Linked DNA regions of Homo sapiens: regions 1 and 3 are each linked to region 2. The links are contacts of gene promoters, found by promoter capture Hi-C in human tissues and cell types (Jung and others, 2019). All regions are on one chromosome and are shown on one strand. The core of a region is centred on a gene start or on the middle of the fragment in contact, and the rest is flanking DNA. Distances in the headings are between cores, read along the strand shown.

Region 1 (2,700 bases), core at 43-2,542, 630 kb before region 2:
GAAGGCTGTTTTTGTTTAAGACAGGGTCTCGCTTTGCCACTCAGGCTGGAATGCAGTGGCACAGTCATGGCTTACTACAGCTCCAAACTCCTGGGTTCAAGCAATCCTCCCACCTCGACCTCCCAAAGTGTTGAGATTACAGAGGTGAGTCACCGTGCCTGGACTAATGTTTTTAGAGCTTGTAGAGATAATTGCTATAGACTGGTAACCATTTTCGGTTGAGATTTCCCCAAGATCTTATTCTAAATATTGATTTATTTTAGGAAACATTCCTAAAATATTTTTCCTGATTCATTTTCTGCTGTGCACCAAAAGGTTAATGAAATATTAAAAATGCTGCAATAAAATATTGAAAATGTCTTATATACCAGATATATACTGTATATATCTGTATATGTACCAGATACTGTATATATCTGGTATATAAGATATTTGGGGCTGGGAGTGGTGGCTCACGCCTGTAATCCCAGCACTTTGGGAGGCCGAGGCGGGCGGATCACGAGGTCAGGAGATCGAGACCATCCTGGCTAACACGGTGAAACCCCGTCTCTACTAAAAATACAAAAAATTAGCCGGGCGTGGTGGCAGGCACCTGTAGTCCCAGCTACTCGGGAGGCTGAGGCAGGAGAATGGCGTGAAGCCTGGAGGCGGAGCTTGCAGTGAGCCAAGATCGCGCCACTGCACTCCAGCCTGGGCAACAGAGCGAGACTCCGTCTAAAAACAAACAAACAAACAAAAAACCAGATATTTGGATATGAAGAATCACGCTTAACTTTTTATGTTTGACCATACAGAGGAGCAATTATTAATTCAACTGGGTTTCCATTTTCCCTACTTAATGAAAAATTCCTAGGTCTCAGTGAATCTGACTTTGAGAAAAATTTGTGGAATGTAAAATCAGTAAACGGAAACGCACGAACGTCGAATTTCCCATGGAAAAATACAGTAAAGGCTATGAGCACAAGCACACTATAGTTTGTTCCCATCTTCAGTTTTACATTCAGAAAACAGGTATAGCTTCATGTATGTTATTTTATTGATCGATGATTGATTAGTATAGTGGCATGATCTCGGCTCCCTGCAAACTCAACCTCCCAGGCTCAGGTGATTCTCCCACATCTAGCTTAATGTATTAATGATGTAATAGACAATTACTGGCCAGGCGCGGTGGCCAGAGCGAGACTCCATCTCAAAAAAGAAAAGAAAAGAAAATTACTGGCGGCAAGCAGGAACATTGTAGATTTTGAAACTGTCTTGTTTTACAAGATACTGAAGCAAGGTGGTGCAATTATTACGTCCTTCTAAAGCTGATCGGATAAAGGCTTTAATTTTGTAATTTTCAGAGAATATTACCAATGTAGCAAGATTTACCAATAACCAATGGTTGCTTGAAGACAAAAGAGTTTGTTGGAACTTGCTGAATAAATTGATGTGCCATCAGTGTATTTTTTACATCATACATGCTGAAAAAAATCTGTCCTTGATTCTGTGCAAAGGAAGATGCTGAAATTGGTGTGCATATGCAGGGAAAGTCAAGATGCAGATGGAAACTGGGATTATTTTGTTAACTCAAAAACCAATTGGCAGGGTGCGGTGGCTCACGCCTGTAATCCCAGCACTCTGGGAGGCCGAGGTGGGCAGATCACCTGAGGTCAGTAGTTCGAGACCAGCCTGGCCAACATGGTGATACCTCGTCTCTACTTAAAATACAAAATTAGCCCCCATGGTGGCGCATGCCTGTAATCCCAGCTACTTGGGAGGCTGAGGCAGGAGAATCACTTGAACCCGGGAGGCAGAGGTTCCAGTGAGCAGAGATTGCGCCATTCCACTCTAGTCTGGGCAACAAGAGTAAAAACTCCATCTCAAAAAACAAACAAACAACCCCCCAAAAAAGCCAATTAAATTGTTTCATAGTCACATTTCTAGATCCAAACTTTTAGGACAATTTTTTTCTCTAGTGATTATGTATAGCAGCAAGAGCAGACAAAAATATTATAAATTAAAAATAAGTTAGTACAACAACCTTACATCTGCTTCTGAAAATATTGTGCATCTTCTTTAAACAGTACACAAAAAGCTTCAGTCAGTGAAATTGCTTAATGAAATGCCAGTACCATCCAAAGAATTTTTAAGGCCAAGAATTAAATAGGAAGAATTTCTTGTCTTAATATATTCCTATTCAAGGAAGGAACATTTAATAAGTTGGTGGTAATATTACCATATTAAAGCAGAGAGGTAGCCTTGCTTTCTATGGAGCTCAGTTGGAAGTCTTATTTAGTAATACAAATGTCCCTGTTAAATGGCCATAGGAGCATCTGACAGAAATTGTTGTTCTTGCCTTATAACATCAAACTTGAAAACTTTACTACTTTTTTTTTGGAGATGGGATGTCAGTCTGTCGCCCAGGCTGGAGTGCAGTGGTATTATTACAGCTCACTGCAGCTTCAACCTCCCTGGCTCAAGTGATCTTACCTCAGCCTCCCGAGTAACTGGGTCGACAGGTGTGCATTACCATTTCAGGCTAATTTTTGTATTTTTTTATGGAGACAGGGTCCCACCAGGTTGCCCTGACTGGCCTTGAATTCTTGGGCTCCAACAATCTACCCACCTCGGCCTCCCACTGTGCTCGGCTACTACATTTTTTTTTTTCTTTTTTGAGATGGAGTTTCACTCTTGTTTCCCAGGCTGGAGTGCAATGGT
Region 2 (2,700 bases), core at 19-2,518:
TCTCCCCAGCAGGCTCCAGCTTCGCTTCCCTCCCCGTCCCCAGTCCCCAGAACCGCTCTTCCCCTCCCCCCTCCCAGGCTGCTTCCCAGCTCCCGGGTCCTCCGGCCCCCAAGCCTGGGGGTCTAGGGCTGACCCGCTCTCTCGGGACCTTCCCGCGGGCCCTGCCCTCCCCACTCCGTCTCCCCTCCGAACACCCCTCCGCGCCTCTCTTCTCCGCCGCGGCGCCCCCTCCCTATTTCTGCTCCCCTCGGACTTCTCACCCCTCCCAAGTTTTCCTCCCGACGGGACCCTCAGCTCCACCTCCCTGCCCCGCCGCCCTCCCAAGCAGCTCCGATCGCCGACTTCATTCCAGGTCCCGGCCCCCTCCCCAGCTCCGGGGCTCACCTGTCAGCGCCCTCCTCTCCCGCCCCTACCGAGTGGCCCGGTCCCCAGCGCCCGCTTCTTCCTCCCCTTCCCCCTCGGCCCCCTCCCACACTCCCTCTCTCCTCCCCTCGGGGCCCGTCGTCCCCCTTCCCACCTGCCTCCCGCCCGACCCCCTCCCAGCCCCCGCCCTTCCCTCCAGCCCCCCCGGTCTCCTCTACCCCCACAGCCCTCACCCTGCCCGCGCCGGCCTTGCCCTCCCTTCCCCCCAGCCCCCGACCTCCCCGGACCCGCGCCCCTCCCCCACGCCCGCCGTCCGCGCCCCTACCCCCGGGGCTGTCACCTGCGCGGAGCCGGCCGTGACCCAACCGCGGCGCTGAGGGAGACGCGGGCGGGGCCGCCTGCAGAGGAGCCTCCCCGGCCCTTACCTGGCTGGCCGGCCGCTCCGCCCGCGCCGCGGGGACCCAGGCGCCCGGGCCTCCTGCCCCGCCGGCTCTGCTCACAATGGCGCTCGCCGCCTGCAGCTCGGGTGCTGACGGCCTGAAAGACTGACAGACTGACAGCCCCGAAACTTCGCGGGGAGGAGAGGGATAGACGCGCGGGGAGTCGAAGCCGGGAAACGGCGCCTGCAAGGGAGGAGGGACCGAGGGAGCGGGCGGAGAGCCCCGGCGCACCGGGCTGGGGGAGGCAGGGGCAGGGGGTTTCAGGAGTGGGGTCCCAGGAGGGAGCACCGTGGGCTTAGGTGGGCAGGTGATGGTCCTAAGGCTCCGAGCCTGGAGTAGGTGTGGAAGTGGGAGCTCAGGACGGGGGAGGGGAGGGGAGGGGAGGGGAGGGTGATGGGAGAGGGGGTGGAGGAGGGCGAGGAGGCTGGGGAGGACAGGCACTCGGGCTGCGGGGAAGGGTGCCAAGGGAGGGTGCTCGCGGCCGCGGAGGGAGGAGCCGGGGAAAGGTGGAGCGCGAACGGGTGGGGGGGTGGCGGGGAGGAGTTGGGGGAACGAGGAGGGGCCGTGTCGGGGGGGAGCCAGCGAGTCGTGCGCTGCCGTCTCTAAGTCGCCGGTGCCAGCCGGGTGTGCAGCGCCGCGCTCCCGCGGGAGGACGGCCCGGGGGGTCGGTCTGGGAAACTCCGGCCCCGCCCCCATTCTCCACCCGGATTCCACCCCGATCCACCCAGACCCGCAGCCCCTCGCCTGGAGTCCCGAGGACCCGATTCGAAACCAGCCGCGGGAGCCGTGGGGGCAGGCGGGAGAGAGGGCTGGGCCCCTGTGCTTGCGAGAACGGGTCCTTCGAAGTAGAAACTGGGGAGAGGACTTTAAGCCAGGTCCCCTGGGAGAAGGCCGGGCCAGGTCGGGAGCTCCAGGGGGCAAGGCTGGGACGGGGCTGGGCGGAGATTCTGAGGGCGGGGTCCGGGGGAGGGTCTGGGAGGGGGCTGCAGAGAGGGGAGGGCTCTATGGGCGGGAGACGATTGCTGGGGGGCCTGCTGGCCCGGACACCACCTGGAGTTAGATGTGGAGGGCAGCCCTCAGCCCTCAGCCCTCAGCCCCAGCTCCTCAGGGGACTCCACTCGCCCTCCCTGCCCAGGTTACGAGGTTTCTCCTTGGCCTTGTTCCCGCTGCGCCCACTCCTGAAAGCTCCGGAGATGCTGAAGTCTGGACTGTTAGTTCCCGGTCTCCTCTCCATGAACTTTCTCCAAACCCCTGGGTTCCAGCTTCCTCCCTTCTGCCCCTTTACGGGAAAGGGTGACTGCAACTCGGGTCTCTTCCCAATCCCAGTGCTGCCTGATCAGCCCCGGTTTGAATCCAGAGCTGAGTGAGGCTGGGAAGGGGAGGGTGTGAATGGCCCTTGAGCTCCTGCTACCACAGCCCACCACAAGGATGAGTGCCTGGAAGAGCGCCCATCACTCGGGCTCAGCTGTGAAGGCTCCTCTGCCTCCAGGATGAAGGGAGCACCTGGAGTAGCATGTGTCACTGTGCGTGCTGGGGTGTGGCCGAGCACCTGTGCCGGTGTTGTGAGACTTACAGTGAGAGTGTGCATGTGTGTAAAACAGGAAAGGGGGGTGTCTGGGTGTGCGTGTGGCTCTTTCTGAGGACTCCAGAGCAGGAGTTGATCCCAGTCATCCGTGACCCCCTGAGAGACTCACTCTGGGCCCTTTTTTGGCCCTGGGACCAATGGTGAACCCAGGAGAAGGAGAGCCCGGCCCAGCTCTGGTTAACAGCAGCCCCCTTCCTCCCCTAGGTGGAATGACTCTACAGGATACTCGGAGGGATATCAGGTTTAGGAGACCGAGGGGTGTGGAGTCGGAGCCAGGCTGCATTCCAGCCCGGGTGTCCGGGTGTGCTCAGA
Region 3 (2,700 bases), core at 73-2,572, 520 kb before region 2:
GCTCATTAAAGTGAAAATTATAAGGAAAATGTCAGTAGACTTAGTCACATCATTTCAGTAAATATTTTTTAAGGATTTATTCACCATCCCAGCTGCTAGAGTGCAAAGATGAATGAATTAGGTCTTGTAGGTCCTGCTAAGGAATTTTGTCTTTATTGTGGGGAGCCATTGAAAGTTTTCAAACGGGTGACATGATCAACTATGAAGTCTGGCAGGGATGTGGAAGCAAGATAAGATGTAAGTGACATCTTTTATCATATAGTCCAAAACATTAAATAAAAATAGGTTTAAAAATGAACACTGATACAGGAGTCTCAGAGAATATGCTAAGCATAAAGCATAGGTAACAGAACATACACGCTATAATTTCACTTTTGTTGAAAAAAAATAAACTAAAAGATGAAAAAAAACTTTAGAAATACACCAAAATTCAAACAGCTTCTTTCTTTCTTTTTCTTTTTTGAGACAGGGTCTCACTCTGTTACTCAGGCTGGAGTGCACTGGCACGATCTTGGCTCACTGTAGCCTCAACCTCCTGGGCTCAAACCGTCCTCCCACCTCAGTGCCCCAAGTACCTGGGACTACAGGCATGCATCACCATGCCTGGCTAATTTTTTGAACTTTTTTGTAGAGACAGGGTTTGCCTTGTTGGCCAGGCTGGTGTCAAACTCCTGAGCTAAAGTGATTCAGCTGCCTTGGCCTCCCAAAGTGCTGGGATTACAGTTGTGAGCCACCACGGCCAGCCCTAACAGCTTATTGTGTGTGAGAAGATTTTGTGTAATATTTTCTTTCTATTCTTCATCATTTTCCAACATTATTAATACAATATCTATGTATAATTTTTAGTATCAATAAAAGACATGCTTTTTTTTAATTAAAAGAAACTAGATAACTCTGAGCACTGATACACTTGAACACTGCTTTCTTTACTTGATGTTTGGAAGTGACATTGACCCTGTGTCTTTAATCCATCAGCACAGGAGAAAACGACGCTCCACACCTTTAACTTCTTCCACACTTCCTTCACAAGCAACAGAGAAAAGCTCCTATTTTCAGACCACCGAGATTTCACTCTGGACGGTGGTGGCCGCTATTCAGGCTGTGGAGAAGAAGATGGAGTCCCAGGCTGCCCGGCTACAGAGCCTGGAGGGGCGCACGGGGACAGCCGAGAAGAAGCTGGCTGACTGCGAGAAGATGGCCGTGGAGTTCGGGAACCAGCTGGAGGGCAAGTGGGCCGTGCTGGGGACCCTGCTGCAGGAGTATGGGCTACTGCAGAGGCGGCTGGAGAACGTGGAGAACCTGCTGCGCAACAGGAACTTCTGGATCCTGCGGCTGCCCCCGGGCAGCAAGGGGGAGGCCCCCAAGGTAGTCTCATTGAGGATTAAAAGTTAGAAGAGAAGGGGGAGCCAGCCCTTTAATATGTAAGCACCTCAGTTGCTGGCTTTTCTGTCATAGCTGTGAGTAGAAGCACTCATGGTGTGCCATTGGTGATTCCAGGTGTCCAGGTCACTGGAGAATGATGGCGTCTGTTTCACCGAGCAGGAATGGGAGAATCTGGAGGATTGGCAGAAGGAGCTCTACAGAAACGTGATGGAGAGTAACTATGAGACACTGGTCTCTCTGAGTGAGTAGCAGTTTTCTCCCTAGAATTCTGTCTCAGACATACTACAATTCCTGGCTGGCAGCCTGTAATTCAGACCACACCTGTGGCTCCTGTGGCTGTGGGTCCTCTGTCGGCCTGCACGGGCAGAGAAATGCCAGTCTCTAGGTCCTCCCATTTACAGACCTGCACGGGTGGAGAAATGCCAGTCTCTAGGTCCTCCCATTTACAGAGACTTTTGGAAAGCTCGCAGCATTGTGCCTTTTGTGTTTTTTTTTTTTTTTTCCTGTGGTCACATAGTCTGTTCTTGATAGTATTTTCTAATAAATAAAATGTCATATACCCTATAGTGTGATATGGCTAGGGTTCCTCATGTTGTTTTTTAATTTATTTTATCTTTTTTTTTTCTTTTTTTCTTTGAGACAGAGTCTTGCTCTATTGCCCAGGCTGGAGTGCAGTGGCACAATCTTGGCTCACTGCAACCTCTGCCTCACAGGTTCAAGCGATTCTCCTGCCTCAGCCTCTCGAGTAGCTGAAATTACAGGTGACTGCCACCACGCCCAGCTAATTTTTGTATTTTTAGTAGAAATGGGGTTTCACCATGTTGGCCAAGCTGGTCTTGAACTCCTGACCTCGTGATCTGCCCACCTCAGCCCCCCAAAGTGCTAGGATTACAGGTGTGAGCCACTGCGTCTGGCCTGTTTTATCTTTTTTTTTTTTTTTTTTTTTTTTGAGACTCTGTCACCTAGGCTGGAGTGCAGTGGTACGATCTCGGCTCACTGCAGCCTTGACAGCTTGGGCTCAAATGATTCTCCCACCTCAGTTTTCCGAGTAGCTGGGATTACAGGCACATGCCACTGCGCCTGGCTAATTTTTTAAATTTTTTGTAGAGACGTGGGTCTTACTGTGTTGCCCAGGCTGGTCTTGAACTTCTGGGCTCAAGTGATCCACCCACGTCGGCCTCCCAAAGTGCAGGGATTACAGGCGTGAGCCTCCGCACCTGGCCTCTCATGCTGTTTTTAATATTTAAGACTATTTGAGATGGGTGTGGTAGCTCACATCTGTAATCCCAACACTTTGGGAGGCCAAGGTGGGAGGAT

What was found. Contacts are between HindIII fragments. The study calls those that stand out against the background at their distance.
Region 1: a contact is called between a fragment that was not itself captured here and the fragment with the promoter of ZNF467 in region 2, in 1 of the 25 tissues and cell types used here (lymphoblastoid cells).
Region 3: a fragment that was not itself captured here is called in contact with the fragment with the promoter of ZNF467 in region 2 in 1 of the 25 tissues and cell types used here (spleen).

The regions. Positions count from the first base shown.
Region 1 is chr7:149,141,950-149,144,649 of GRCh38, forward strand. It overlaps LOC107986856 (a long non-coding RNA gene), which reads right to left. Exons shown (of 2, transcript XR_007060581.1): 2 at 1,015-2,700. It also overlaps a transcript of ZNF398 not described here. Among named protein-coding and RNA genes, the nearest start is that of ZNF398, 4.2 kb to the right of the region's middle. The HindIII fragment of the contact is 6,283 bases long and covers 1-2,700 here.
Region 2 is chr7:149,772,320-149,775,019 of GRCh38, forward strand. It overlaps ZNF467 (zinc finger protein 467), which reads right to left and starts at 1,269. Exons shown (of 5, transcript NM_207336.3): 1 at 789-1,269. RefSeq lists a silencer at 712-891. The HindIII fragment of the contact is 33,741 bases long and covers 1-2,700 here.
Region 3 is chr7:149,249,184-149,251,883 of GRCh38, forward strand. ZNF212 (zinc finger protein 212) reads left to right here. Exons shown (of 5, transcript NM_012256.4): 2 at 976-1,365; 3 at 1,498-1,624. Among named protein-coding and RNA genes, the nearest start is that of ZNF212, 11 kb to the left of the region's middle. The HindIII fragment of the contact is 4,566 bases long and covers 1-2,700 here.